7 separate regions of the Homo sapiens genome follow, and all the other regions are linked to region 7. Evidence: promoter capture Hi-C in 16 types of primary human blood cells and fetal thymus (Javierre and others, 2016). All regions are on one chromosome and are shown on one strand. The core of a region is centred on a gene start or on the middle of the fragment in contact, and the rest is flanking DNA. Distances in the headings are between cores, read along the strand shown. Region 1 overlaps VOPP1 (VOPP1 WW domain binding protein). Region 2 overlaps VOPP1 (VOPP1 WW domain binding protein). Region 3 has its middle 86 kb from the start of LANCL2. Region 4 overlaps VOPP1 (VOPP1 WW domain binding protein). Region 5 overlaps VOPP1-DT (VOPP1 divergent transcript). Region 6 overlaps VOPP1 (VOPP1 WW domain binding protein). Region 7 holds the start of MRPS17 (mitochondrial ribosomal protein S17).

What was found. The method cuts DNA at HindIII sites, captures the fragments that hold promoters and counts their contacts. A CHiCAGO score of 5 or more calls a contact.
Region 1: a fragment that was not itself captured here is called in contact with the fragment with the promoter of MRPS17 in region 7 in 4 of 17 cell types (monocytes, neutrophils, naive B cells and 1 more); the score reaches 7.0 in monocytes.
Region 2: a contact is called between a fragment that was not itself captured here and the fragment with the promoter of MRPS17 in region 7, in 9 of 17 cell types (naive CD8 T cells, fetal thymus, total B cells and 6 more). The highest score is 11.1, in naive CD8 T cells.
Region 3: a contact is called between a fragment that was not itself captured here and the fragment with the promoter of MRPS17 in region 7, in 4 of 17 cell types (naive CD8 T cells, total CD4 T cells, fetal thymus and 1 more). The highest score is 5.9, in naive CD8 T cells.
Region 4: a fragment that was not itself captured here is called in contact with the fragment with the promoter of MRPS17 in region 7 in 1 of 17 cell types (monocytes); the score reaches 5.3 in monocytes.
Region 5: a fragment that was not itself captured here is called in contact with the fragment with the promoter of MRPS17 in region 7 in 10 of 17 cell types (neutrophils, monocytes, fetal thymus and 7 more); the score reaches 13.8 in neutrophils.
Region 6: a fragment that was not itself captured here is called in contact with the fragment with the promoter of MRPS17 in region 7 in 1 of 17 cell types (naive CD8 T cells); the score reaches 6.2 in naive CD8 T cells.

What each region holds. Positions count from the first base shown.
Region 1 is chr7:55,506,940-55,510,982 of GRCh38, forward strand. The region is part of intron 2 of VOPP1 (VOPP1 WW domain binding protein); the gene reads right to left. Among named protein-coding and RNA genes, the nearest start is that of VOPP1, 64 kb to the right of the region's middle. The HindIII fragment of the contact is 4,371 bases long and covers 8-4,043 here.
Region 2 is chr7:55,567,934-55,571,797 of GRCh38, forward strand. All of the region lies in intron 1 of VOPP1 (VOPP1 WW domain binding protein), which reads right to left. Among named protein-coding and RNA genes, the nearest start is that of VOPP1, 2.6 kb to the right of the region's middle. RefSeq lists silencers at 746-795, 943-1,237, 3,823-3,864 and an enhancer at 3,563-3,622. The HindIII fragment of the contact is 5,325 bases long and covers 1-3,864 here.
Region 3 is chr7:55,449,580-55,453,967 of GRCh38, forward strand. It overlaps a transcript of VOPP1 not described here. Among named protein-coding and RNA genes, the nearest start is that of LANCL2, 86 kb to the left of the region's middle. The HindIII fragment of the contact is 1,001 bases long and covers 2,226-3,226 here.
Region 4 is chr7:55,542,592-55,546,910 of GRCh38, forward strand. The region is part of intron 1 of VOPP1 (VOPP1 WW domain binding protein); the gene reads right to left. Among named protein-coding and RNA genes, the nearest start is that of VOPP1, 28 kb to the right of the region's middle. RefSeq lists an enhancer at 3,339-3,498. The HindIII fragment of the contact is 5,440 bases long and covers 95-4,319 here.
Region 5 is chr7:55,588,639-55,592,849 of GRCh38, forward strand. VOPP1-DT (VOPP1 divergent transcript) reads left to right here. Exons shown (of 17, transcript NR_187585.1): 5 at 1-259; 6 at 358-782; 7 at 873-1,520; 8 at 1,666-1,826; 9 at 2,017-2,069; 10 at 2,265-2,343; 11 at 2,805-2,831; 12 at 3,046-3,099; 13 at 3,269-3,311; 14 at 4,013-4,061. Among named protein-coding and RNA genes, the nearest start is that of VOPP1-DT, 18 kb to the left of the region's middle. The HindIII fragment of the contact is 8,588 bases long and covers 1-4,211 here.
Region 6 is chr7:55,487,667-55,491,853 of GRCh38, forward strand. The region is part of intron 4 of VOPP1 (VOPP1 WW domain binding protein); the gene reads right to left. Among named protein-coding and RNA genes, the nearest start is that of VOPP1, 83 kb to the right of the region's middle. RefSeq lists an enhancer at 683-1,183. The HindIII fragment of the contact is 8,751 bases long and covers 1-4,187 here.
Region 7 is chr7:55,949,171-55,953,463 of GRCh38, forward strand. It overlaps MRPS17 (mitochondrial ribosomal protein S17), which reads left to right and starts at 2,707. Exons shown (of 3, transcript NM_015969.3): 1 at 2,707-2,760; 2 at 4,009-4,148. The coding sequence starts at 4,026. RefSeq lists an enhancer at 2,760-2,819. The HindIII fragment of the contact is 16,512 bases long and covers 1-4,293 here.

The DNA.
Region 1 (4,043 bases), core at 943-3,442, 440 kb before region 7:
CCCCACAAGCTTCTTTATAATATTACTTAATACACTTATGCATTTCCAGCCTTAATATGGCATAACCTCCTGGGTCATATCCTGGCTTTGCCTTTAGGAATCCAACCTACCCCAGGAAAGCTCTCTCATTTGAATGAGGCAGCAGAAGTCCCAGCCCATACATGTGGATAAAACTCAAACCAGGAGGTGGTTCAGGCAGAACTCCAGCAGCCTCAAGAAACACCTGTGAGGAGTGCTGTGGAAAGTAGTGGCTCTCAGCACAGGCTCACGTCAGAACTGTCCAGCAGCTTTAAAAACACCCGTGCCTGCTGGCTGGGACACACTCCTCAGGAGATTTCAGTACACGGCAGGGCTGAGAACCAAAGACCTAAATCTGGAGCCCTCTTGCCTGTGACTCTTTTCTTGGTGCTGGGAAGGAACATGTGGTGGGTGAGCTGGTGGGTGGGGGGTGTTGTTCTGGCTTTTCTGAGCAGGTATATTTTTTTTTAACAGCTTTATTGATATATACTTGATATACAAAGAGCTGTGTACAATCTGATGAGTTTGGTCATATGCAAACACCCAAGATACCACCACAATGAAAGTCTAGGCATAATCTGATTACTTGTAATATTGTACGTCTGCGAGAAAATAACATTTTTAATAGAACTTTCATCTTTCCAAACACAAGATTTTAGACCATTTTATCTGTCTTGCTTTCAAGTCAAAAACTTCACAGACCTGACTATGAACTCATGGTTCTTTCTTTCCTGTCAACCTCAGTTGGTAATCCACATGATGTCAGAATTGTCCTCCTGGCCTGACATGGTTTCCCTGACGGGCAGGGAGGTGCCTGTGTGTTGAGACGTGTGGTCCCATTTTGATGATGTTTCAACTTTTATTTGGTCAACACATCCCATGGCGAAGTCAAACATCTCTGGGTTCTAAGGAGGGGGCCATCACTGCTTTGATGAGGCCTGAGCCCGAGACGTTGAGGGTGGGAAGATGGCTGCCCTGTCAATCATTCCTTCAGAGACACAGTTATCACCAGAAAATACCTTCTCTGACTTGTATAAACCCAAACTAGTTGCATTCAGGGTGGCATACAGGATTTACCTAGGGAAATTTTACTTGTATTTCTACCATGGGAGAAAGCATTACAAATACTTACTAAAATCACTAATATTAGCAGACCAAATGGGGTAAAAAGTGCTCATTTCTTTGCCATTTTAACCCTTGAGGAGCTGCTGCCTTGGAGCCCAGATGCACCCAGAGTTAAAGTGAAGAGGTGAGGTAAGATGGACCAAGAAGCTCTTAAATTACTGCTGAACTTTGGTAACTACGGAGTTTTTTGTTTTGTTTGTTTTGACACAAGGTCTCACTGTGTCACCCAGGCTGGAGTGCAATGCTGCAATCATAGCTCACTGCAGCCTCAAATTCCTTGGCTTAAGTGATCCCTTCACATCAGCCTCCCAAGTAGCTAAAAATACAGGTGCACACCACCACGCCCAGCTAATTACAAAAATTTTTTCTACAGATGAGGTTTCACTATGTTGCCAGGCTGGTCTCTAACTCCTGGCCATAGTGATCTTCTTGCCTTAGCCCAAAAGTGTTGGGATTACAGGTGTGAGCCACTGCACCTGGCCCAGAGTTTTTGAAACTCCACCTTTGTGTTTCTGGGGTAGAGGTTTTCCCTCTTTCTCCTTTCAGTAAACTGCTGATCATTTAAAATTAGTTCTATTCAAGCCTATCCTGAAAAACAATCCTCCTAGTTTCTGGTTGACTAAATATAAGGTTAAAAAAATAAATTCTGGCCATATGTCTCTTTCAGAAACAGTTATTACCAGAAACCACCTTCTCTGGAAGGTGTTTTTCATTTTCCATACTAAAGTGAAAAACAGAAGTCTGCCTATGAGCTCAGAAGTCTGCCTATGAGTTCATAGTGAGATCCTGTCTCTATAAAAAAATCTTTAAAATTAGCCAGACGTGGTAGCATATGCCTATAGTCCTAGCGACTCAGAGGCTGAGGTGAGAGGATCGCTTGAGTCAAGGGGTTTGAGGCTGCAGTGAGCTAGTACTGCACCACTGTGTTCCAGCCTAGGTGACAGAGCAAGACCCTGTCTCAAATTTATTATCAATTTTAATTTTATAATAAATTTCCTATCATTGAAATCACACAGGCATGATAAATACTAAAGTAATGAGCTGAGTTTGGCAATGAGATCAGGAAGGGAGATGAGATTCTAGTACCTAAAAAATCTGGAAACCTACACTGAGGTTCACACCTGGCTTACTTTCTCAGCTCTATTTTTACTTGAGTTGGTCTTAGTCCATTCAGGCTGTTATAATAAAATACCACAGCTTGGGTAATTTATAAACAACAGAAATTGATTGCTCATAGTTCTGGAGGCTGGGATGCCCAGGATCAAGGCCCAGCAGATTCAGTATCTAGTCAGGGCTCCCTGCTTCATAAATGATGTCTTGCTGCTGTGTCCTCACAGGGCAAAAGAGGGCAGGGGAGCTCCCTGCAACCTCTTTTGTAATCCCATTCACGAGGACAGAGCCCTCATGACTTAAGTCACTTCCCCAAAGGCCCCACCTCTTAATACTAATACATTGGGTGTTAGGTTCCAACATAGGAATTTTGTAAGGACACACATATTCAGACTATAGCAGCTGGTTAGCTGTTATAAGCAAATGCTCAGAACTCTTAAGTCTACATTCCAGCTCTGGACTACATCCTGCCCTCTTCCACCTCTGCTGCAAAAGTGAATTCCTCACTGGCTCCATTTCCTGGGTATTCTGCAAGAACTCCAAACTCCACATGCATATATGACATTCTCTGCTCAGTCTTCTATTGAATCTTTCCCGGAACCTATTCTTTTCATGGTCTCTCTCTGTCTTCCCAACCAGAAACCTCTGATTTATTTGACTCCCTTTACCTCTATATCGACTCTTCTGTGAGATGCTTTTCATGCCCACCGCCTGTTCCTCTGCCCTATTTCTACAGGAGTTGGACTCTGTCTTGCCTTTACTACAAACACAACCTCCTCCCCTTTAGACCAGAGGACCGTGTCGTCATACTGTTCCTAGACCAAAATGAGGGTCAGGCTGCTATTTCTTGTGGCCCAATAATAAGATGCAGATGAACTGGGGAGGAAGAGAATTTTTATTTCTGCAACCAGTTACTGGTAGAAGGCCTGGAAATTATGGCCAGACCAACTCAAAATTACAAAGTTTTCCAGAGCTTATATACCTTCTAAGCTATATGTCTACCTGTAAGTGTGCATCATCTAAAGACATAAGTGATTAACTTCTTTTACATTATAACTAATGTCTGAGTCCTCAAGGCCTTCTTCTGGAGCCTCAGTAAATTCACTTAATCTAAATGGGTCCAGGTGCTGGGGTGATTACCCTTATCTTGTCTCCTACTAAATCACAAGAGGTTTGGGGAGTTCATTCAGACCGCAATAAACTTGTTTGTGGAGGCCTGGGGAGTTTCTTCAGACACCAAATAAAACTTATTTAATCCTAAATGGGTCATGTTAAGAATTCCTTCATTATTTTGTCATGCTTTAAGGCCCAGGAAAGGCCTAGGCAAAACTCCTGGTGGGCTTTTGTTACATCCCAGACTTTATATAAGGGCACTGGCTTTTTTTTTTTTTTTTTTTTAGCTTTTAATATTTAACTTAACCACTCAGTCAGTACTGAAACACTTGTTATGGAGGCCTGTGTTGGTGAGACCTGGCCTGCCACAATGCTGCATGCAGGAGGGAGTCTCAGCCCCTCAGACGGCGTTTGAGACTCTTCTTGCTAGGCTTCTCCCTCTTTTTCCCATCTCATCTCCTGCCATCCACCAGGCACCCTGAACTCCAGCCCCATGGTCCCCACTGCACCCTGCACCTTCATGCTCCCATGCCTGCACTCCTCCCAAAGTCTCTGCTCCACCCCGCTTCAAAGATCAGCCCTGTGAGGTCTCTCCCAACACCATCCCCTGCCCTCCCCAATCTGTCCTGCTCCTCCCTTGGCAGGACCCCCATTTCTACAGTTCTCACCATGTGCAA
Region 2 (3,864 bases), core at 921-3,420, 380 kb before region 7:
CACTCTTAAACATAACTCAGTTCTAATTTCCAGACTCCCAGGCATCAAAATACACAGAACTTCAGAAAAATACTCAGTGATCTTATTATTTTTCCCTAGTTCAAAGATAATGTCCACTTTGCAACCCTCTCTAAGAGACAACTATTCCTTTTTTTTTTTTTTTTTTGAGACAGTCTCACTCTGTTGCTCAGGCTGGAGTGCAGTGGCACAATCTCCGCTCACTGCAAGCTCCGCCTCCCGGGTTCACGCCATTCTCCAGGCTCAGCCTCCCGAGTAGCTGGGACTACAGGCGCCCGCCACCACGCCCAGCTAATTTTTTGTATTTTTAGTAGAGATGGGCTTTCACCGTGTTAGCCAGGATGGTCTCGATCTCCTGAGCTCGTGATCCACCCGCCTCGCCCAAAGTGCCGGGATTACAGGCATGAGCCACCGCACCCAGCCTGACAACTGTTCCTTTTTCTAGTCCAAGAAGATCTGTTCTTTTGCCCAACAGCATTGAAGCACAAAGCAACGTGGCTTAAGCGTTTCCAGCTCTTGGTTCCTGGGAAAGATCAGAAAGATAATGAGTAGTCCCTTAACTAAAATAAGTCTATCTCCTTGGAAGCAGAGGCACTGGTATTGGTGAGTTTTACACTAAATAGCATACTATACATTTCTGGGCTCACTTCAGTAAGAACAGAGCCCTTCAAACAAATACTAAGTAGATTTCAAAAGTGTAACCAACCAAACCTCTAGAAAGAGAATGCAGTGACAATATCTAGAAAACAATGCACACAACAAAAAGCCCCAGGGAGGTGCATATGCTTAGGGCCTCATTACTCTCGGGATTCAACTGAAGTGTAGTCAGTTTTAAAACCTTTTTTTTTCCTTTTAGTTTCTAAGGAGTTACTGTGTGAAGGCCACTGAGAATAACTTCAGCAGGGCTACTAGGAGACAGCTTAGTACTTTCACTCTTCCTGTAAGGATTGTTTGCAGGACCTCACTTCAGCCAGCTGGCGGAACAAAGGCATAGAACCTTAGCATTTTATGAACCAAAAAGGCCTCTGAGGTTCCCTACTCTTAGCCACCCTTAGAATCTGCCACATTCGTGGCCTGGGTCCCTGGATCATAACCAGCTGGCACAGAGCAACAGGGGAGAGGGAGATAAAATCAGGGCCCTCACTGGCTGTGCATGTAATTCACAGGAAACTCTGAGTTAATAGAAAAGAAAGGTCAGTCCAGTAATGAGCTTCCAAGAAGCCTCCCTAGGAGAGGGATGGTGCTGTCAGCTGCTGCCGGTTCCTCCCTGAAGCCCTACCTGGGCTTCAGGAGGGGAACACAACCAGGGTTTCTCAGGAGAGTCCTGGTGATGCCCACTGTCCAGGCACAGCTCTTAACAACATCCTATTTCACTCTTCAAAGTGCCACCGTTTGTAGGCTAAATCACATGGTCTTTCTAAGGAAGGGTGACTGAGTTTCTAAGGGGAATACACTTTCCAGGGCCACCACTGCCCTCGCGATGTAGAGCATGCAAATTCCTAACATGTTCCTGTGTGCGCAGACGGCAGAGGAAGCAGAGCATCGAGGTGGGGTACACACTGGAACCAGACTGCCTGGGTTAGCATCTTAAGCCCTCACACTTAACAGCAGTGTTAAGTGTTCACTTCCCATTTGAAACAAAAATGAAGATAAAAGTAATTGCTAGCAGGATTAATGAGATAACGTGTAACATTTATAGAACAGTGCCTGGCAGTTACCCTGGAGCACTCTATGAATGTTTAGTAAGCAAACATAAATATGCAGTTCTATGTCTAACAGGTAAGTAAATTTCTACAAAGGGATGGTGAGGCAGGGGAGGAAAGCACTTCTCAAAACAGTCTTTGGATTGCCCTTCCTACTCAAGGACCTCTCACTAACACAGAAACCCCTGCGCATGTGAGATTCTGGATGGTGCTAGATAGGGCCAGGGTGCTGGGGGTGGGAACAGAGTCACCACTGCCACAAGGCCACCCCTTAATTTCAGGTGGTTTATGATCAACCACGTGGCAAATTTATACACTGAAACCAGCTCAGGCAGAACAAAGGAACAAAGACAAATTTCCCAGGTTGCAGCCGGCAGTCAGAAGCCAGAAGCCACCAAATAGCTCCCTGGGTTGCTTTTATGCACTCAACCTGAAGAGAGCCATTTGCCATGGCACATGCTCCACACCTACGACTGCACATCCATGTATGTGATTCAGGACTTCAGAAGCATCACAGGTATTCATCAGAGCACCCCACCAGAGATGAAAAAATCTCAAATATAAATCTCATACATAAAATTTCATGTGATAAATGATGAAGAAATCTCCTTAACTCCTCAGAGAGACGCCTCTCCAGCACAAAGTGGTGGTACTTAGGATAATCATCATGTCAAAGTGGGTGACATCACACTGTCCCCTCTGAAACAATCATCTAATATTTGACTGTGAAAGTATCATCTTAGGCATTTAGGTTTCAGTTTTACATCACACTTCTGCCTTTAAGGTCGTTTCAACTTTGCAGACATGATCTGAACTCCTATTAAGAGGATACATTCCTATGCAACGAAACAGCTATTTTGGAAAGAATGGAGTCACTGAGGCCGTCTAGGCTACATATAGGGCACAGAACCACTCAGACAGAAGGCTTGGGAGACATGGGTGGCACAAACTAGAATGAAAGAAACGCTAAATAATTTCATCAAGTGCCGATTAAAAAAGATTGCAGGGCCGGGCGCGGTGGCTCACCTTGTAATCCTAGCACTTTGGGAGGCCGAGGCGGGCGGATCACCTGAGGTCAGGAGTTCGAGACCAGCCTGACCAACATGACGAAACCCCGACTCTACTAAAAATGCAAAAATTAGCCGGGCATAGTGGTGGGCGCCTGTAGTCCCCGCTACTGGGGAGGCTGAAGCAGGAGAATAGCTTGAACCCAGGAGGCGGAGATTGCAGTGAGCCAAGATCGCGCCACAGCACTCAAGCCTGGGCCACAGAACGAGACTCCATCTCAAAACTAAAGAAATAAATAAATAAAAATAAAAAATAAAGATTGCAAGTATAGGTACACACATTAAGGTACAAGCACATCTGTTTTCATGCGATTACTGGTCTCTGATTCACTTCTTTGTTCTCTATGGTGAGTCACTCAGAGAATGTGATTCCTAAGGTTCTAAAATTCTGAATAAATGGAAAGAATGCAAGCAGAGGCACTCCACAAAAACATTAAATACCAAGCTACGGGGATATTTCCGAACAGAAACAGGAAGTCTCGGCTATGGCAGAGCCTGGAGCAAGGAGAAATTTGTCCACCAGCCTTCCTTTCAGGAAACACTTTTCCTCCAACATTTTGTAATAATTACTTTTTAATAAAGGGCGAAGACAAACTAGTAATTTCCAGCACCAATCACTAACTATTAAGGAAGATAGTTTCACAACTTCCTAAAACAGAGGCATGGGATTCATTACCTATTTCTTTTGACTTCATTAATTTAACGCAAATTTCCTTCAGAATAATGAAACTAAGGAGAAAGTTGAACAAGCCCTGATTCAGACTGGACACCCCAGAATTCCTCTAGTTCGCATTTTAAGGAACCTGCTTTAGTGAGAAGTATGTGGCCCCATCCGAGGATGCAATTTCACAGCCAGGAGCAGCCGCGGTCCCCGCCAGGGATGCGGTCACGGGCGCTCGCACCCGGAAGCCGCTCAACAAGTTCCCCGCCGGCTTCGGCTCCGCACCCCCACCCAGCCAGGCTCTCCGCAGAATTTCCTCCCCGCACCTAAAGGCTGCACTTCATTTTCACACGCGGGAACGCCTCCTCCCGCTGCTCACCTCCACAACTCCCGGCACTCCCGCGACACTTCCCCA
Region 3 (4,388 bases), core at 1,476-3,975, 500 kb before region 7:
CAGGGGAACCCTGAAGGCAGCTGAAGGTTGGACGAAAAGCTGCCCCTCCCTGTGACTGGCTGGGGTCACCTGGAAGGAGCCAGCTGAGCTCCGACCAGGTTCCTGCAGAGGCGTTCTGGCCACCGAGCCTGTCCTGGGAGAGGAGAGCAGCGAGCAGCCTGGCCTCCCGAGGGGACAGGAGCCCTCCACCCCCGCACTGTGCCCTCTACCGCCCCTGCCTCGGTAGGTCCTGCCACCCTCCTGCGGCCCCTGCAGCCCCTCAACACGCCTACTTCTGGGCATCAGGGATGTCACTGGTGCCAGAGGTCCCAGAGACCTTTAAGTACAAACCTGTCACCCTTGAGGGGAGAAACAAACATGTCACCCTTGAGGCGTAGCACCCAGGTGGTCAGCAGACCTTTGGAAATGCGGTTGGATGAGAAGCCAGGATTTCTGCCCTCTGTCCGCATCTTACATTTCTGTGCACCCACACTGACAAGGATGGTAATAAAGAAAAAGACGAGCAACGATTGCATTTCACCTACTTCCATTTGCTGAGAACATCTCACTCCTTCCAGGGACCCCTGAGCTTCCCCTTGGGAGTTGGAGTCACCGACTTGTGGCTGGGGGCACATTTCGGGCAGGAGACCTCAGGCTGGTCCTAGTGTTACCTCCCCGACCTGGGGGTGTTCTTGAGGTCCCACCAGTCCTCCGCCTCTTCTCTTGGGTGTCCCCAGCAGCACCTGGATGCCATTTCAGGGCTGACCACCCAGCACTGGAACTTGTGTAACCACCCAGAACCCAGGAGCTGGGCATTTCCCTATGCACTCTGGTTCTGCACTGTCCAGTAAATCACTCACCAGCGCTACCAGCTCTTATAGCCCTTGAAATGTGGCCACTCCAAGTGGAAGTGTGCATTGAGTATGTGTTATACAAACTGGATTTTGAATATGGAAAAAAGTAACATTTCTCACTCACATACTTTTATATCATTACATGTTGAAATAATACTTTGATATATTAGGCTGAATATCATTAAAATAATTTTTTTGATTAATCTTTGTAATGAAAATTTAAAGCAATGCACTGGTTCACATCATACCTTTAGTGGACAGCACTGGTAAAGAATATACATCTAAAAGCTTTTCCCCACGTAAGCTTTAAAGTAAGATGCAAAATTCCTTTCTTCTACAAAAACATGAAGGATTGTCATTGGTAAGGGCTGCGCCCAGGCAGTTTTCACAGGTACACACTTGTTATCAATCTTCTGTTCCCATGTGCACTGAATACTAGGTCTGTGGCAAATGATATCAGCACTGTTTGTGATTTCTGGAGTCCAGGGAGAAAGACAAAGAGAGTGCTCTCCAACATTCCTGTCACTGTTGAAAACAGACCAAGCCACGTTGCTCCTCCTTCATTATACTCTTGAGACCTGCACAAGAACATACATCTTTTTTTGTAAAAGTGAAGCCTGGATCTTCAGGGCTGGCATCAGAGGGAGATCTCCTAGGGAGGAGATTCAACAGGACTCAAATCTAATTCCCTTCACCTTCTTCTTGCGGGTAGGGGGTGTCTTGACAATCATCCTTGCACCCACCACACCATTTATAGGAGGGCACTGGGCCCCTTCCACACAGGCACAGGAGTGGAACGAGATCCTTTCTGGACACTTCCGCACAGCCCATCTGAGACAGGAACATTACAATAAAAAGTTATGGGGTAGGGGGCAAAAGAAACGCCTGAAGTACAGGAATACCTGGGAAATGTTGCAGGTTCAGTTCCAGAACACCATAATTAAGTGAACATTGCAATAAAGTTTGAGTCATACAAATTTTTGGTTGCCCACTACATATAGAAGTTGTTTACATTATACTGTAGTCTATGAAGTGCACAACAGCATTATGTCTAAAAGCCACAATGTACATAGCTTCATTAAAAAATACTTTATTGTGGCCGGATGTAGTGGCTCACGCCTGTAATCCCAGCACTTTGGGAGGCAGAGGCGGGCGGATCACAAGGTCAGGAGTTTGAGACCAGCCTGGCCAATATGGTGAAACCCCCGTCTCTACTAAAAATACAAAAATCAGCTGGGCGTGCTGGCGGGTGCCTGTAGTCCCAGCTATTCAGGAGGCTGAGGTAGGAGAATCACTTGAACCCAGGAGGCAGAGATTGCAGTGAGCCAAGATCGTGCCGCTGCACTCCAGCCTGGGCGACAGAGCGAGACTCTGTCTAAAAACAAACAAAAAAGCTTTATTGCTAAAAATGCTAACGGTTATCTGGGCTTTCAGTGGGTCATAATCTTTTTGCTGGTGGAGGGTGTTTTCCCAGTGTTGACGGCTGCTAACTGATCAGGGTGGTAGTTGCTAAAGGTTGGACTGGCTGTGGCAATTTCTTAAAATAAGACAACAATGAAGTCTGCCGCATTGATTGACTTTATTTCAGGAAAGATTTCTCTGTAGCATGCGACGCTGTTTGACAGAATTTTACCAATAGTAGGACTTCTTTCAAAATTGGAGTTAAACCTCTCAAACCCTGCCACTACTTTACCAACTAAGTTTATGATATATTCTGAATCCTGTGTTGTAATTTCAACAATATTCACAGCATCTTTAGTAGGAGTAGATTCCATTTCAAGAAACCACCTTCTTCACTCATCCATAGGAAGAAATACCTCATCCATTAAAGTTTTACCATGAGATTGTAGCAATTCAGTCACAACTTCAGGTTCCACTTCGAATTATATTTCTCTTGCTATTTCCACCACATCCACAGTTATTTCCTCCACTGATGTCTTGAACCCCTCCATGAAGGGGTTCAAGTCATCCATAAGGTTGGAATCAACTTCTCCCAAGCTCCTGTTAATGTTGGTATTTTGACTGCCTCCCATGAATCACAAATGTTCTTAACAGCATCTAGAATAGTAAATCCTTTCCAGAAGGTTTTCAATTTACTTTGCCCAGATCCATGAGAGGAATCACTATCTATGACAGCTATAGCCTTACAAAATGTATGTCATAAACAATAAGACTTGAAAGTCAAAATGACTCCTTGATCCATGGGCTGCAGAATGAATGTGTGTTAGCAGGCATGAAAACAACAATAATCTTCTATGTCTCCATCAGAGCTCTTGGGTGATTAGGTCTTTTGTCAATAAGCAATAATATTTTAAAAGGAATCGTTTTTGCTGAGAAGCAGTGCGCTTAAAACACTAAGCTAACCATGCTGTAAAAAGATGTGTTGTCATCCAAGCTTTGTTGTTCCATTTATAGGATAAAGGCAGAGTAGATTTTGCATAATTCTTAAGGGCCCTAGGATTTTTAGAATGATAAACGAGCACTGGCTTCAACTTAGCTCACCAACTATATTAGCCCCTAACTAGAGGGTTAGTCTGTCCTTTGAAGCTTTAAAGACAAGCGCTGACTTTTCCTCTCAAGCTACAAAGTCCTAGATGGCATCTTCTTCCAGTAGAAGGCTGTTTTGTCTACATGTAAACTCTGTTGTCGAGTGTAGCCACCCTCCTCAGTGGTCTTAGCTAGATCTTCTGCATTACTTGCTGCAGCTTCTACATCAGCACTTTCTGCTGCACCCTGTACTTCCAAGCTATGGAGATGACTTCTTTTCTTAAACCACATAAACCAACCTCTGCTAGCTTCAAACTTTTTTTCTGCAGTTTCCTCACCTCTTTCAGCCTCCATAGAATTGAAGACTATATCAGCATTGTGTGTCACTGGAATAGCGCTTTTAATTTCCTTCAAGAACTTTTCCTTTGCATTCACAAGTTGGCTACCCGGTGCAAGAGGCCTAGCTTTCAGCCTGTTTCAGCTTTTGACATGCCTTCCTTACTAGACTTAATCATTTCTAGCTTTTGATTTAAAATGAGTGACATACAACTCTTCCTTTCACTTGAACACTTATAGGCCATTGTAGGGTTACTAACTAGCCTAATTTCATTATTGTTTGTTGTGTGTCAGGGAAGAGAGTGGGAAAGAGATGAGGGAATGGAGGGTAAGGCAGTCAGAATACACGTTTATTGATTAAGTACACCATCTTGTATAGGCAGAGTTATTGGCACCCTATAGTACAACACTAACATCAAATATCACTGATCACAGATCACCATAACAGTTATTTATTAATGAAAAAGTTTGAAATATTATGTGAATTACCAAATGAGACATAGAGATAAAAAGTGAGCACATGCTGTTGGAAAAAAATGGCACTGATAGACTTCCTTGATACAGGGTTGTCACAAACTTTCAATTTGTAAAAAACTCAATACCTACAAAGAGCAATAAAGCGAAGTACAATAAAGTGTGCCTGTAATATGAATGTACAAAATATAGTAGTTTTTGAGATCTTTTTTGGTTATTTTATTATTCATTTTAACTTATTATAAAATATTTTGAACA
Region 4 (4,319 bases), core at 1,565-4,064, 410 kb before region 7:
CCAGCCTGGCCAACATGGTGAAGGCCCGTCTCTACTAAAAATACAAAGTTAGCCGGTCGTGGTGGTGCATGCCTACAATCCCAGCTACTTGGGAAGCTTTAGGCAGGAGAATCACTTGAACCCTAGAAGCAGAGGTTGCAGTGAACCGAGATCGTGCCATTGTACTCCAGCCTGGGAGACAGAGCGAGACTCCATCTCCAAGAAAAAAAAAAAAATACAGAACAGGCAATATTTGTTTTTCTGTGCCTGGCTTATTTCACTTAATGTTCTCCATATTGATCCACATTACTGCAACTAGCAGGATTTCATTCTTCTTTTTTGTTTTTTTATTTTTATTTTTTTGGAGACGAGTCTCGCTCTGTTGTCCAGGCTGGAGTGCAGTGGCGTGATCTTGGCTCACTGCAAGCTCCACCTCCCGGGTTCACACCATTCTCCTGCTTCAGCCTCTCGAGTAGCTGGGAATACAGGCACCTGCCACCACGCCCGGCTAATTTTTTGTGTTTTTAGTAGAGACAGGGTTTCACCGTGTTAGCCAGGATGGTCTCGATCTCCTGACCTCATGATCCGCCCATCTCAGCCTCCCAAAGTGCTGGGATTACAGGCATGAGCCACCGCACCCAGCCTAGGATTTTATTCTTTATTATGGCTTTATAATATTCCATTGTGTATATAAAACCACATTTTCCTTATCCATGTGTCCACTGATGGGCACTTAGGTGGATTCCTTATCTTGGCTATTAACAGTGCTGTAACAAACATGGGAGTACAAATATCTCTTCAATATGCTCATGTTCTTCCTTGGAGAAATGTGTGTCCAAATCCTTTGTCCATTTAAAATACCTGGCAATGAGATTGCTAGATCATAAGGTAGTTCCATATTCTTAGTTTTCTGAAGAGCCTCCATACTGCTCTCCATAGTACTAACTTACATTCCCACCACTAGTGTTTGAGAGGTCCCCTTTCGCCATATCCTCACCATTTATTTTCAGTCTTTTTGATAATAGCCATTTTAACTGAGATGAGGTGATATCTCATGGTTTTGATTTGCATTTCCCTAATGATTAGCGGTGTTGAGTATTTTTTCATATACCTGTTGGCCATTTACATGGTTTTTTTTTTTTGAGAAATGTCTATTCAAATAATTTGCCCATTTTTAAATCAGATTATTTGGTTTTTGGCTACTGAGTTGTTTGAGCTCTTTATATATTCTGGTTATTAATCCCATGTCAGATGAATAGCCTACAAATATTTTCTCTCATTCTGTGGGTTGTCTTTTCACTTTGTTGATTGTTTTCTTTGCTGTGCAGAAACTTTTTAGCTTGATGTAATCGTATTTGTCAATTTTTGCTTTGGTTGCCTGTGCTTTTGAGGCTTTACTCAAGAAATCTTTGCCCAAAACAATGTCCTGAAGCATTTCCCCAAAGTTTTATTTTAGCATAATACTTTCATAGTTCCAGGTCTTACATTTAAGTCTTTGATTTTGAGTTGATTTTTGTACATGGCGAGAGACAGAAGTCTACTTTCATTCTTCTTCATATGGATGTACAGTTTTCCCAGCACCATTTATTGAAGAGACAATGTCCTTTGCCCAATGGATGTTCTCAGCCCCTTTGTCAAAAATCAACTGGCTGTAAATGTGTGGCCCAGCATGCTTCTGTGTTAATCTGTAAAACACATTCTTAAAAGATTTTAGCTGACCAAAAGCGACACAAGAAGAAGAAAATATGATGAAATTGGAACAAAATAAATGCACACAATGGCATGGTTTTTATGGTTTGGGGCAGTAGGGCTGGTGGGGGAAGGAGATGGCCCCACACTTAGCTCCAGGCTCCTGAGGGCCAAGGCAGAACGGGGAACGCTGTTAGTCACAACATCATGGTGTCCATCGGATGAAAAAAACTTGCGAGAAAAGATAGTGTTTCTTGAAAAGAAAACAGTCTTTCTGATACTGGAATGTGCTGAAAACTTCTTTTTGGGTCTTCCCAAAAAGAACACAGCTCCAACTGGTGTGGAAGAGTGGGGGTTTCAGGGAGGACCTCACCAGAGGGGAAACTGAAACTGACGAATGTAATCTAACATTTAACTCTGGAGAGTGTTGTTGAAGGCTTCCGCAGAGTTGGTGGAGAGCAGAGTTGGTGGAGACCGTGGAACTCAAGCAAACATCTGAAATAAACTAAGCTAATGAAACCACGAGGCCATTTTGAACTCAAGGAAAATAAAAAAAGTTGTCCAATAAAAGCGCAATTTTAGTGTTCTACACTGGCTCAACAGTCAGCAAAACGTAGTCAAAATAATGATGATACTAAATGTGGATTTAACCAGATATTTTAAATACATTTTACTTTCGTGTAATCGGTACTGATATAAACATATATACTGAGAGGATAGAGGAAGAGAGATTAAATAATGTCTAGCACTGTTAAATCAAGAGCTAGAAGGTATGTGTATTATTTTAAAATGTGGAGGCAAATAGTAGAAGAACCAGCTAAATAAGAGTTGAAAGTAGTTCTTCTGAGAAGCAGACCACAACGGTGGGGCATGGGGAAGACTGTGTTAAGCTGTGACATTATTAAACTTTCCATTTATATACATATATTACTTTATTTAAAAATGAAATAAACTTGTTAAATACAGGAAAAGTCACCTATGGTCAATGTTCCCTGTGATCACTATTTCTTTAAAGGGGCACAGGTGAGACCACGCTAGGAGAAGAAAACTCTTTCATCAGGAGGGGCATCCCACTGAGTCACTGAAGCCCCCAGTGCTGTGAGGTCCAAGAACGTGCTGCTCTCCCCTGGGAGGCCTGTCTTGATGTCAAGATCCCACCAGCCCCAGACAAAGCAGCACACAACTGACCCATGGCAGGAGGGAGGCACTCAGAGGCGCAGCCAGGAGGGAAGAAGCCTGCTCTCCCCATCCTCTTTCTGGCCCAGTATGCATGGCTGAATTCACCTTAGGATAAACACAGGTATGACTACACTCCAGTATGACTAGAAAAATAACACAGGCGTGACTGCAGTTGGAATCACAGCTTGCGGGCCACACTGGTTACACATCCACCGGGACTCAAGAGGGATCCACTGAGCTGAACACTGCCTGCTCGTGCTCTGTGCCTAAGGCTCCCTGTCTGGCAAGCCCCATGGAAGCTCACAGATCTGTCATTTGTGGAGAGCTGCAGCTCTTGTGTTTAAAAAGGAATGATTTGGCTGGGTGCAGTGACTCACACCAGCACTCTGGGAGGCTGAGGTAGGCGGATCCCTTGAGCCCAGGAGTTTGAGACCAGCCCGGGCCACACAGCAAGACCCCAACTCTACAAAAAAAAATACAAAAATTAGCATGGTGGCACATGCCTGTAATACCAGCTATTCAGGAAGCTGAGGTGGGAGGACCACCTGAGCCTGAGAGGTCAAGGTTGCGATGAGCCGTGATTGCACCACTGCACTCCAGTCTGGGTGACAGAATGAGACCCTGTCTCAATTAAAAAAAATAAAATAAAGAAAAGAAAAAGTGAAAAAACGGAAGGATTTACTAAGCCCAGCTGTTCAATCAGCTCACAGATACTCACTAAGCACTCCACAGCTCTGGCCTGTGCTAGAAGACAAGGACTCAGTCATGAGGAGGGCACAGGTGGTGCCATCTCCTGAGTTACAAGACAGTCGAGGGAGATGTAGACAGGATCTGACCCATGAATGAAGATATAATTCCCAGGTAGCTCACTAAGTTGAGAATAGTTGTACAAAGAGAACACTTAAGGGAAAGGCGGAATTATATGCTCTATGGACCGTGAGGTGGTAGGATGCAAGAAGTTTTGGCAAAACTGAAATGAGCCTAAATCAATACGCCATGATGAACTGAATCTCCCAACAGAAAAAGGGACATTAATGGAAAAACTGGAGAGATCCAAATAAAGCAATTTTAATTAATAGCAATATACCAATGTTGGTTTCCTTTTTAGGCAAATGCAGCATGGCAATGTAAGTTATTAAATTAGTGGAAACTGGGTTATACAGCAACTCTGTATTTGCTCTGCAAATGTGCTTTGCAAATTTTCTATAAATCTAAACTTATTCCAAAATTAAAAGTTGATTTAAAAAATATACAAATATATTGTGCTCCCCCGCCAAGAAATAAGTGATACCACCACGACCACCACCACCCCTGAATTAAGGCTCCAGCTTTGAAGCACAGAGCCCAAAGGGAGGGGCGATGGAGCAGAGGCCAGCAGGCCGAGAGCTCAGGCCATGCAGAGCCTGGGAGGCTAAGCCATGGGATCAGGTCTGCATCCTAAAACCAACAGGAAGCACCTCCACAAATGGGAG
Region 5 (4,211 bases), core at 1,009-3,508, 360 kb before region 7:
CAGCAACTGGATCACAGCAACCTTGAAGGACTTGACGGAGCTGCAGGCACAGGGATGTCAGATCCCAGCACTAGAGTTGGAGAAAATTCACTCTTAGGAAGAAGGAGACTGGGTGTGCTGGCTCCTTCCTCACCCCAGGGAGGAAGCTGAGTTCCCCTGCCCAGCACCTGCCCCATTCTCCTGACTCTGTCTACCTCTGTCTCTAGGGTCTCCCTGAACTCAGGGTCCCAATGGATTTCCTGGCCCCAAAGAGCCCCTGGTGAGTTGTCACCCGAGCTCTGACCCACCCCTGGTTCTCTGAGTCCTTCCCTGCCTCCTTCCAGCCCAGAGTTCACCTGACATCTGGACTCCTTCCAGGGCACCCTGGGAATGACAAGCTGCCGGGACACTCAGGCCAGAGAGGAAAGGTGGTGAGGGAGACCCCTGGCCACCAATTCTCAGGAGGCCCCTCAAATGCCAAAGCTGTCTGGGAGGCCCACAGAGACATTTTCTGAGCAGAACAGAGCCTGCCCTAATGCTGTCCACACCCACGGGCCGAGGCTTGATGTGACCTTGTTCCTCTTCTGGAGCCCAGGCATCTACCCTACAGCACCCACTGCACTCCCCCCTTTTCCTCTCAGGGTTTCCAAGGGGAGAGCAGCCCCCGTGGCCCCCCATATGTGGTGGGACCTCAGCTAGGTCTGTTCCCAGGAGAGAACGGCTCCCAGACCCTGGAGTTAAGTCTGTCTGGCTCTCTTCTCTCAGTCACACACCCCTGCCTCTGGCTCGCATGTCTGGAACAGGTAGCTGGGGACTTGAGGGGGCTCAGAAATCTCTCTTTTTAATTTGGCAGCACGGATGGCTGTCGCTCCTCACCTCTCCTTTTCTTTTAGGGTGTCCATGGGGTTCAAGGGAAGGATGTTCCTGGTCTGAGGGGCTTCCCAGGAGAGAGAGGCCTCCTAGGCACTGCTGTGAGTGTGACTCCCAGAGCCCTGCCTGGACCAAGGACCAAGTGACCTGAACCCCTCCCTGACCCTGACCCTGCTCCATGCCACTCCCCACTCCCATCTCTCTGAACCTATCTCCTCTCGCCAGCCCTCACCCTTCTCTTTTCTGTGAAGCTCCACCTTCCCCAAATCTCTGCTTCAGAGTGTGGACCCAGCTTGAAGAGGAATGAGGTCCAGTTGGCCCCCTTACCCTGCAGGGAGCCTGGGGTTCCTGGGGAGTGGGAGGAGGGAACTAGGAAAGGGGGTGTTGAGGCAGGGTGGAGGTGGCATCCAGATCTACGCAGGTGCTGTGGGACTGGGCAGAGGGAATCTAGAGTCAGCCAGAATGCAGCTGATTTGGGGCTCTTCTCCTGGGAATTGTGCTCTGAGGGCCCTGGTATGAGTGGGCTTGGGTCTTCCTCCCTGGGGATCTCACTCATCTCAACTTTCAGGGTTCCCCCCTAGGGAGTGAGGTGCAGCAGGATCAAGGGACCCATTGCCCCCCGCCAGGGTGCCCAGGCCCTCAGGAACCCCCTGGATCAGCAGGAGAGACAGGTGTCCCAGTGAGAGTGGGGACCTTGGGAGTGGTTCTTGGGGAGGGGTCTGTGGGCTGAGGGGTGATGGGCTATGAAAGGTTTCCTGTGGGTGTTTGAGGGTGAGGGTCACCTCCAGGCCATGACTCCTCCTTCCTGCCCCACAGGGTGAAAAGGGCCCCATTTGTCTGCCTGGCTGTGATAGGGTGCAGAGTCCTGTGTGACTTCCTGGTCCTGCTGGGCCTCCAGGTGTGGCTGGAGAAGATGGAGACCAAGAGGAGAACCCCAGAGAACCCGACCAATCTTCTCTCCACATGAGAGGGCTGAGGTGGGCTTGACTCCTGAGCTCTATCATTTCCTCCCTCTGGTATCTCCTGTGCCTTCTCCTCCAGGATGAGGTGGGGGACCCCAGGAAGAAGGGCATCAAAGTGTCCATGACCTTGACGCCCTGGCCTTTAACCTCATTCCCTCCTGGTTCCTCCCTGCCTTGGTGTTTCTGACTCTCGTCTCTCCCCCAGGGCCCTCCTGGACCCCCTGGACTCACTGGTCCATGGAACAGCCTGTAGCAGTGGTGAGTGAACCCTCGGCCCCCACGCAAGGCCCTGGCAGCCTCTGCTCTGCCTTCAACTCCCCTTTGCCCCTGAGGCTGGGTTTGGGAGTGGGGTCTCTGGGCCTGGTACCCAGCTATGTATGGGGTTCGTGAATAGAGAATGCCTGACCCATGACCCATGTCTATGTCCTTGTCCCTGCTTCTCTCCTTCCCCAGGGAGCAGATTGGGAGCCCAGAGCTCAGGGACCCCAGGGACACTTTGGAGCCAGAGTGTGGGGAGCCAAAGGCAATAAAGGTAGAACAGGATTCATGAATCTATAGGTGAGATGCGGCTGGGGACGGGCTGAGAGGCAGTGTCAGGATGGGGTGATGTGTGTCCCAGACCCTGCCAGCAACATGCTTTAAGGACTGGGTTGGTGGGGGCAGAAGCCTGGGGGCCATGTGGGGTCTGAGTGGAGGGGCTGTGGGACCCATCAGTCTAGGGCTGTGCTTTGGGTGGGTGGTCACCTGGGTCCATGCTTTCTGCACCTGCATAGCGTGTGCCAGGTCCCTCTGGGGAGAAGGGAGAAACAGGAGATGTGGGTCCTATGGTGAATGTGACCCCTACTGACCCCAGACCCCAAATGGTCACCCCTGCCTGGCCAGCCCCCACCCCACTGCTGCCTCCCTGCCCTGACTGCTCTTCCTCCCTCCACACTCCTTCATTGTGCCATTTCACTTCCCTTCCCCACCTCTGGTGTATCTGTTCCCCTGCAGGGACTACCTGGACCCAGTGGCACTGGTGTGAGTCATCCCAGCCCCTGCCACTTCAGAGCAATGAGTCTGATCCTCTGCGTCCCTTTCCTCAGATCATAAACTCTTCGCCCCTGAGAAGCCCCTTCCCCTGGGAGGCCCCCACTGTCCCACTGCCATAACCTTGGGATGCTCATCTGGGCCTCTGCCCCTGCAATAACCCCACCTCCTGAAGCGATGTCACCTATTTCTCTTCCTCTTTCAGGGTCCACAAGATCCCCTGGGAGGTGTTGGGGCCCTGGGTCCCCCTGGAGAGAAGGTAATTGGGAAAGGGATGAAGGGGACCAGTCTTGTGGATGAGGAATGACAGTTGGATTTCTGCCAATTTTTTGTTGAGGAGACAAAAGAGAATAAAATGTGAGAAATACCAGGATTTTGTGAGGGGGCAATGAGGTTTTTGACCCCAATCTCTTTGCTCCTGGAGCCAGGAGAGTCAGGATCTCCAGGAATCCAGGGTGAGCCGGGTGTCAGGTGAGTGACAGCTCCAGGGCCCTGCTTCAGAATTCCCTTCACCCCTCTCAGCTGCACCCCCCCTCTTTTCCTGTGACTTCCTTGAGTTGTAGCTCCTCTGCGGCCAGGAGTCTCTGCTCCCAACCATCCTTGGAGTGAGGCTTTCCACCCTGTCCTTGAACGGAAGGGGACCAGGGGACTCCCCTTATAGGCTAGACTTTCTATGTGTATCCCATTGTCCTCAAGGGCAGTAGGGAGTGACTAAAGGTGTCTTGGAAGCAGGGGCTGCATCCCTGTTCTTCAAGACCCTCTGTGCCCTCCACTTGTTCTGCAGGGTACACATGGGGAGTGTGGGGGGAAAGGAGAGTCAGGGCAGCCAAGTTTCTGGGAATATGGGTATCTGTGAGTAAGGATCTTGGACTGTGGGGAGCCTGGGAATGGGGGGATGCCTGGGAGGGAGGCTCTGGGAATGGGGTATCCTGGGAGGATGCATGGGATCTGGAGTCCAGAGAGAAAGTGAGAGATACCCTGTGGCTAATACCATAAGGCATTAGACAGCATGAAGTGCTCGAGGTGGGGATAGGGGTGCAGAGACCTTCTTCCTAGGGAGGTGCCAACAGATGAGCCTGTAGGGAGGAAGAGGGTCTCATATGCCTGTGGGAGTCTGTGTTGGGTGGGCTTATGGGGCTGTGACCCTGACTCTTGTTCTCCCTCTGGATTAGGGTCTTGGTTTTCCTGGAGACCCTGGCCCCCCAGGAGAAGGTGGCTCATGTGAGTCTTACTGACAGAGGGGAAAGGATGAAGAGGTTGGGGCTTCTGTGGGGTGCCTCTGTGCAACTGATGGGCTTAGATGTTGGGAAGCTGGAGATATGGCAGGGCAAGCAGGGGAATGCAAGGCTTAGCAGTTTTAGGGGTGATGCC
Region 6 (4,187 bases), core at 1,658-4,157, 460 kb before region 7:
CCCTAACTGCACCTTGATGGTCTTGCCGTACCAGCAAATTGTCTTGATCTTGACTATGAACTTTAATGGCCACATAATATTCCACAAAGAAGATGGACCATAATTCAATCATCGTTTTCTTTGGAGCTCCCTTAACCACCCCCTTGCCACATTCAATCACAGGGGCACCACACTCAGCTGAGGCCACCTCCTGCCAGCCAGCCAGCCAGCCCTTCCTTCCCCCAGGCCTACAGTGCTGCCTCAGCCTAGGCTTTTACATTTTCTCCACCGTTCTACAGTTCCTAAAGAGCAGGGAGGATTCTCACCCACACCCTCCACCTGTGTGAACACAGTGGCTGGAGCTAGTTAGCTCATGTTTTCAGAGTGAGTGAATAAATGAATGAAGACAATTTTTTCCTCTCTACCCAGGAAAACATATTGGTGGGACCCTGCCAGCATCCTGATGGGGAAGGATTTGGGGTTGGGCATTTAGGGAGCTCTTTCTGCTGCTGCTGCATCTTGGCTGACACTATATGCATAGATTACACAGAATGAGGAGTGCTTTTCTGCACACCGTTTCATTTTGCAGTTAAGGTGCTGAGGTTTAGAAGGGACCGTGGCCTACCCTGGGTCTCACAGACCTCAGGCCTCTTAACTCCCTGACCAGGGCCTCTTCCTCAAACCACAGCTACTCCACACTCCTCCCACTTTCCAGCCTCTGCACAACCCGGCCAGGCCCTGAGCCCTTCGGCCAGCAGCTGCAGCCTTTGGGTCCTGGTTCCTGGGCTGGCCTGGAGCCCCACCTCTGAACCTCAGCCTCCTGCTGACTTTGCCAGCCCCTTTCCACCACGTTCAGAGTTCTGCCCCAACCCACACCAACCCCCAGGACCACAATGCTGCCAATTTCCTCCCCTCCCCGACCAGAAGCCTCTTTGCAATGCACAGATTCTCTGCTTTCCCATGCTCATCAGTGATGCTGGTCCCAGCAGGAGCGCCATGCGAGCCCCCCTACACCCCAGAATATGAGCCACTGCCCCCCCTGCCCCAGTGGGTGAGTCTGGGTCCTCTAAATCCCTCTGCTTTTTCATCTTCATTAACAGGCATCCCACGCCTGAACCCACTTCCCCTCTCAGACCAGCAGAGGAAAAATGGGGCTCTGCTGAAAATTCACTAACACCCACCCTGCTTTGTGCAGATGCCTGCACACCTTGGCACTGCCCGGACAGCCTCAGGCATGACATTTACCCTGTGGACCACATGGGACATTGGGATTCCTCGGCTCCTCTCTCTCCCTGGACTGCCAAACTCTGTGTGGCCCTCCTCTCAGTCCCCACGCCCCCAGGGCCCATGCCACAGATAGTCTGGGATCTGAGCAGACAGCTGCAGCAGGGTGAAGCCACCCTCAGGGGAGGCAGGTGTCCAGACCAACAGCAGACAGGACCCTGCAGACCCCATTCTTTTGTTCACTATTACTCTGTCTAGGAAACAGCTGAATTCTTCCCAAGCTCAGCACTGTTAACAAATGATCCAGCCCTGGACCTGACAGGGAAATGATGGAAACTGTACACTACCGGGAGCCCTGGGAGCCTGCTTTCATATGACAGTCTGGATATCCTGGGATCAGCCACACCGTTGCAGGCCTGCAAGAAGTATAAAATGAAAAACGGATGGCAAACCAAGTCTACATTTTGGTCAGAGAAGATGCGCTGGGACCAGCAGCCACTCGCTGTAGAGAGCTGGGGGCTTACTTATTCTTAATCCAAATGGCTCTTCCGTGGGAAGCCTTCCTGGAGTTGTGCACCAGATGGAGTCTCCTACTTACATGGTTTCCTAGCATTCTCAACTTTCTCTCCCTCGCACTCATGATGGTCAGTCACTATAGAGTTGTTTGCGTGAAAGCTCACACGGGTGCTGGAGCTGTGCATGCAGCGGTGACTGAGGGCAGGTGTCCAGGCTGTGCAGTGTTTTGAGCTCCTGCAGGCGCCTCAGCAGGTGTGCAGTAAATATGGGCCAAGACAGCAATTCAGGCAGGTCTGCGCTCCAGGCTGTGACTGTAGTTGTGATGTATTCCGACCCTGGTTTACCAGGCTGCAAACCTGGGAGCTCCCACAGTTCATCCAGCCTGAGGATGAGGGCCGGGCATCTACTTGGTGCCTGAGACCATGAGTCCTGTACACAGCCCCGTGGGGAGCCCAGTGTAAACATGGAGCATTAAAGCTGGTAAAGCCCCTGGCAGGGGACCCAGGGAGAAAGTGGAGATGTGAAGCAGCCAGAGACAACTTCACTATGGGTACAACACAGAGCAGCACCTTGGAGGAAGGCATTTTCCAGGCAGAAGGAGGGCGTGTGCAGGCCTCAGTGCGATGCAGGACTAGAGAGAGGAGGTCGCTCAAACTGGACACAGAGGAGCGGGGATGGGTCTGAGGAAGCTGTGAATGCGTCCTCAGTCCTCAGCTAGGGACTGTGGACTTACACTGTGAGCCAGGTGAGCTGGCAGAGACCCTGCCGCAGAAAAATAGCACGGCCGATGTGCTTCTGTTTTTTGTTTTTTAAGACCCTTCTGATAGCCAAGTGGAAGACAGAGGAGCTGGTGGAGACCAGTGGCCAGCAGGCACTGCTCCAGGGTGAGATAAGGGATGTGGCAGATCTAATCGCCTGGTTGCTGGGGATTCTCCCAGACAGATGGAGCGGGGTTAGGTGGGGTGTGGGGCTGTGCAGAACAGAGGGATGGGACCAGAAAGGAGTGCACATAGGGATGCATTCTCTTCTCAAAACCCTGGCATGCCAGGGTTCAAAAGAATTATGCAGCTGCAGGCACAGTCTCAGCACCTCACCTACTCACCACAAGAGCCCCAGTTCACATGAGTGGTAGACTCTGAGCTCGGCCAGGACCACGGACCAGGGACATGTGGCCTTCTGCACTGGGGGCAGTGGGGCCTCCCATGCCAAGTGGGGCAGGGGCTGCTCCTCCCTGTACTAAAACCTCTCTGACTGATCCAGATGAGACCCAGTGAGTGGCGGCTTTCATCTCTCATTTTAACAGAAATTTTGCACTTTACCCTATGATGCAGCACAAATCTGAAACGATTCAAATATTTCCAAATATCAAAGGCTAAAATCCACTTACGGATTCAAAATGGTACTAACCTGACTGTAAGTTTAAGGCACAGCTCTCAGTGAACTGCTGTGGAAAATATATATTTTTCTGAGCAACATTTTTTAAAATAAAGAAAATTCTTTCTGAAAGGAAAACCCTGTGGAGTATCTGGTGGAAAAAAGCTGTAAAAGAACAAATATGCAAATGACTTTGCATCTTGATAACAGCCTGTTCTCAGGAAAACAGAAGAGAGAAGATAATTTTCTCCTATTACATTCAATCCCTCTACTTCTCTCCTATTTAAAAACCACTTTATTGAGGTCTGACTGACAGGCAAAAAGCTGTGCATGTTTAAGACCTACAACCTGATGAGTTTAAAGACAGGGGCACATCCAGAAAACCATAGCCATGCTCTATTCCATAAACATCTCTATTACCTACAAAAGTTTTCTCTGCTCTTCTTGTTATTTTTGTGTGATAAGAACATATATTAACATAAGACCTACCCTCTTAGCAAAATTTTAATTATACATTACAGTTGTATTAATTGTAGGTCCTACACTGTACAATAGATCTCTAGGACTTATTCATTTTTCTTAACTGAAACTTTGTAAAAGCGAAGGCATCCACTGCTCCTAGAACTGACCACCTATCCACAGTGTGCAATCAATAGACAGTCCCATCCCCAGGCTCCCAGGTGGAAACTGTGGCTGGGAGCATGGCGGTGCAGACATCAGCAACACCCCTCTGCCCAGCCTCACTCTACACCTGGCCAGAAGACCAGCGCTCTGATGAGCCGAGCCAGCCCAGCCCTCCAGGACCCTTGGCTCCCCGCTGTCATCAGAGAGCTCCCTGGCCTGTGTCCTAAGGAAGTCCACACCACCCACCACAGTATGTAGGAGTTTTAGATGGCTAAGGCAATGTTTTACAAGAATTAAGAAACAGCTAATTCATTTTGACCCTGGGATGTCACTTTGGGTGTTATGCACTAAACAGACTACATGTGACCTGTACAAGAATGTCTATTGCTATGGTCTTTGTAAGTATTTGGAATACTAGTAACTGCACAATGAATACTTGTTGAATGCATGAATAAAAGACAAAACATGAG
Region 7 (4,293 bases), core at 1,457-3,956:
ACATTCACATAGTAAAGTTCTGTGCAACTGAAAAGAAAGATCAGCATGTTCAGTACACTCCAGAAGCTGATTTGGAGCGATTCTTCCAGGATATGTTAAGTGAAAAGGGCAAATACAAAGCAGTCTACATAGAATGTTACTTTTGTAAGAGAATATATACAATCTTTGCAAAAAGAAATATAAGCAGGCCAAACCAGAAACTAATAAATTAGTTACCTATGGGAAACAAGAACAAGATCAAAAAGATTGGGAATGGAATGAAATTTCTCTGCTTGTATCTTTTTAAAGTTTTAGTCCTTCCTTCTCCCCTCCCCTCCCCTCCCCTTCCCTTCCCCCCTCCCTTCCCGTCCCTTTTTTTTTTTTTTTTTTTTTTTTTTTTTGAGACAGAGTCTCACTCCCTCACCCAGGCTGGAGTGCACTGGCACCATCTCCGCTCACTGCAACCTCCACCTTCCAGGTTCAAGCGATTCTCCTGCCTTAGCCTCCTGAGTAGGTGGGATTACAGGCGTGTGTCACTATGCCCAGCTAATTTTTGTATTTTTAGTAGGGATGGAGTTTCACCATGTTGCCACAGGCTGATCTCGAACTCCTGGCCTCAGGTGATCCGCATGCCTCGGCCTCCCAAAGGGCTGGGATTATAGGCGTGAGCCACTGCGCCCAGCCTTAAAGTTTTAATTTTTGAACCATTTTAATGATTTACACATTCAAAAAATAAGATTAAAAGGATATGGTTTTTCCTATCCTCGAATACAAAATTGTATACAAACATATAAAAATGAAGGCCAGGCACGGTGGCTCACGCCTGTAATCCCAACACTTTGGGAGGCCGAGGCGGGCGGATCATTAGGTCACAAGATGGAGACCATCCTGGCTAACGCGGTGAAACTCCATCTCTACTAAAAATACAAGAAAAATTAGCCGGGCGTGGTGGCGGGTGCCTGTAGTCCCAGCCACCCGGGATGCTGAGGCAGGAGAATGGCGTAAACCCAGGAGGCAGAGCTTGCAGTGAGCCGAGATTGTGAGCGAGACTCCGTCTGAAAAAAAAAAAAAAATCTAATTGTATAGAATATTGTTACAACCACACAGAAGAAAAAAAAAGAATCCCAAGAAATGTTGAACACAGTGCTGTCATTGTACACTCTAAGGACAAAAAGAACCACAAAAAATAATCTCACGCATCACTTAGAAAGTTTGTTTTTAGTCGGGATATTGTTAGTACAACTCCAAAAGCATATAGTGTATACTATAGGATTTAGCATTAATCATTGATGTTGTCGGGGTAGGGACCAGAGTTCTAACTGTGGAAGAAAGGAGATAAAAATACGGAACTGGTGAAGCAAAAGAAGAAACCCACTGGTGGCTCATGCCTGTAATCCCAGCACTTTGGGAAGCCGAGACGGGCGGATCACGAGGTCAGGAGATCGAGACCATCCTGGCTTACACGGTGAAACCCCGTCTCCACTAAAAAAAATACAAAAAATTAGCCGGCCTGGTGGCAGGCGCCTGTAGTCCCAGCTACTCGGAAGGCTGAGGCAGGAGAATGGCGTGAACCCGGGAGGCGGAGCTTGCAGTGAGCCGAGATCGCGCCAGTGCACTCCAGCCTGGGCGACAGAGACAGCCTCCGTCCCAAAAAAGAAAGAAACCCACTGCTGTTTAAAGGTAGGTGTGTGTGTGCGTGTGTGTATGTTTCAATGTATCGATAGCTACATCTGCTGAAATAGCCTACAGGCAGGAAAATCCCAGTAGCAAGTTGCTCACCTAGCACTCAGAGCTTTGTTGCTAAGTACCACTCCCCACTGATATTTTTCGTTTGAAAAACTTCTGATACAATAACTGGTCAGGGAAAGTATAGGTAAATCTGGACCAGCCAGGCACAGTGGCTCATGCCTGTAATCCCAGAACTTTGGGAGTCCGAAATAGGTGGATCACTTGAGGCCAAGAGTTCAAGAACAGCCTGGCCAACATGGTGAAATCCCGTCTCTACTAAAAATAAAAAAAATTAGCTGGACGTGGTGCCAGATGCCTGTAGTCCCAGCTACTCAGGAGGCTGAGGCAGGAGAATCCCTTAAACCCAGGAGGCAGAGGTTGCAGTGAGTCAAGATCATGCCACTGCACTCCAGCCTGGGCAACAAGAGTGAGACCCTGTCTCAAAAAAAAAAAAAAAAAAAACACTTTTAGGCCAGGCACGGTGGCTCACGCCTGTAATTCCAACACTTTGAAAGGCCAAAGTGGTTGGATCACTTAAGGCCAGGAGTTCGAGACCAGCCTGGCCAACATGTGAAACCCTGTCTCTACTAAAAATACAAAAATTAGCTGGGCATGGTGGTGCACGCCTGTAATCCCAGCTACTTGGGAGGTTGAGGCAGAAGAATCGCTTGAACCCGGGAGGCAGAGGTTGCAGTGAGCAGAGATCGCGCCACTGCACACCAGCCTGGGCGACAGAGCGAGACTCCGTCTCAAAAAAAAAAAAAAAAAAAAGAAACAAAACAAAAGAATGAAAGAAAAGTCCGAAACCTCCTGCGCCACTGTCCACTAGCTGCGCGCGTTAGGAAACCAGAGGTCAGCGCCCCCGACCCCGCCACCGCCGCGGGTCCCTTTAAGGGAGAGTGGGCGGGGTCCTGCCTTTAACTCCGCCCACGGCTAAGGAGATGCACGGCCTACGAGAGGGGTAGTGTGGGACTGAGCCAATGCGTACGGCGTGACGCCATCCCGCTGCGACCGGCGCTCCCCGGGGCAGGTGGCTGCATAGTCTTGGCGGAGGTGAGTCTCGTGGTGGAGGTGAGGGCAGGCTCCGGGGTATTGCTGCCGGGGGAGGATTTGCTGGGGACCCAAGGCACCCTCGCGTGAGAGCCCTGAGAGCGAATCGCTTCGTCTGACCTCGGGGTTGTCTGGGGCGAGGGCACGAATCACCCCAACCTTTCCGAAGCCTGGTGGAATGGCTTGTGAACTGATCTCAAAAGCAGCCCAAGTCATCCGTCGCTGGGCCGGGGAGGGGGACACCGCGGCGGCCCCGCCGAGTGCTACCTGGGCACTGAGCCTGTGGGGAGAGGCGACCCAGCGGGGTGGAGAGAGATAAGGGACCAGTAACGTCCAGCGTTTGTCCGTGGTATTGAGCGTTCTGTGGGTCAAATTCTCAAAGCACTCCTGCGAAATAGGCCTGCCCATTTTGCAGAAGGGGAACGTGAGGCTTGGCGAAGTTAAAGTTACCGCTTTGTAAGCGCTGTAAAGATGAGAGGTTGGGTAGTGGGGAACGTGTAAGCATCTCTGAAATGGTGATTCAAGCCGGGCGCGGTGGCTCACGCCTCTTAATCCCAGCACTTTGGGAGGCTTGAGGCGGGCGGATCACCTGAGGTCAGGAGTTCGAGACCAGTCTGGCCAACATGGTGAAACTCTGTCTTTACTAAAAATACAAAAATTAGCTCGGCGTGGTGGTGCGGGCCTGTAGTCCCGGCTACTCGGGAGGCTGAGGGAGAAGAATCGCTTGAACCCGGGAGGCGGAGGTTGCAGTGAGCCGAGATCGCGCCACTTCACTCCAGACTGGGCGAAAGAACTAAACTTCATCTAAAGAAAAATACATATGGCCGGGCGCGGTGGCTCACGCCTGTAATCCTAGCACTCTGGGAGGCCGAGGCGGGCGGATCACGAGGTCAGGAGATCAAGACCATCCTGGCTAACACGGTGAAACTCCATCTCTACTAAAAATACAAAAAAATTAGCCGGGCGTTGTGGCGGGCGCCTGTAGTCCCAGCTGCTCGGGAGGCTGAGGCAGGAGAATGGCGTGAACCCAGGAGGCGGCGTTTGCAGTGAGCCAAGATCGCACCACCGCACTCCAGCCTGGGCGACAGAGAGAGACTACATCTAAAAAAAAACAAAACAAAACTGTTTCTGGGTGGAGGGGGGAACGAAAAAGAAAAAAACTGTTTCTGGACTAACCTGGACAGTTCTTGTGACAAAATTCATGTGGCATCATAACCACCAGAATATGAGACTTTGGAATTTGCTTTTCAGGTGACCAAAGCCACGTAATGTCCGTAGTTCGCTCATCCGTCCATGCCAGATGGATTGTGGGGAAGGTGATTGGGACAAAAATGCAAAAGACTGCTAAAGTGAGAGTGACCAGGCTTGTTCTGGATCCCTATTTATTAAAGGTGAGAAACATTCTTGTTTCCGGGTGGCTTTGGTAAATCACCACCATGTCCTGGGTCCTAAGCAAAAAAACATTTATCTCTCAGTAAAGATGTCTTGTCTCTCATCTGCTTTGAGCCAGGCATTTTGCTGGTCTGTAGGTATAAC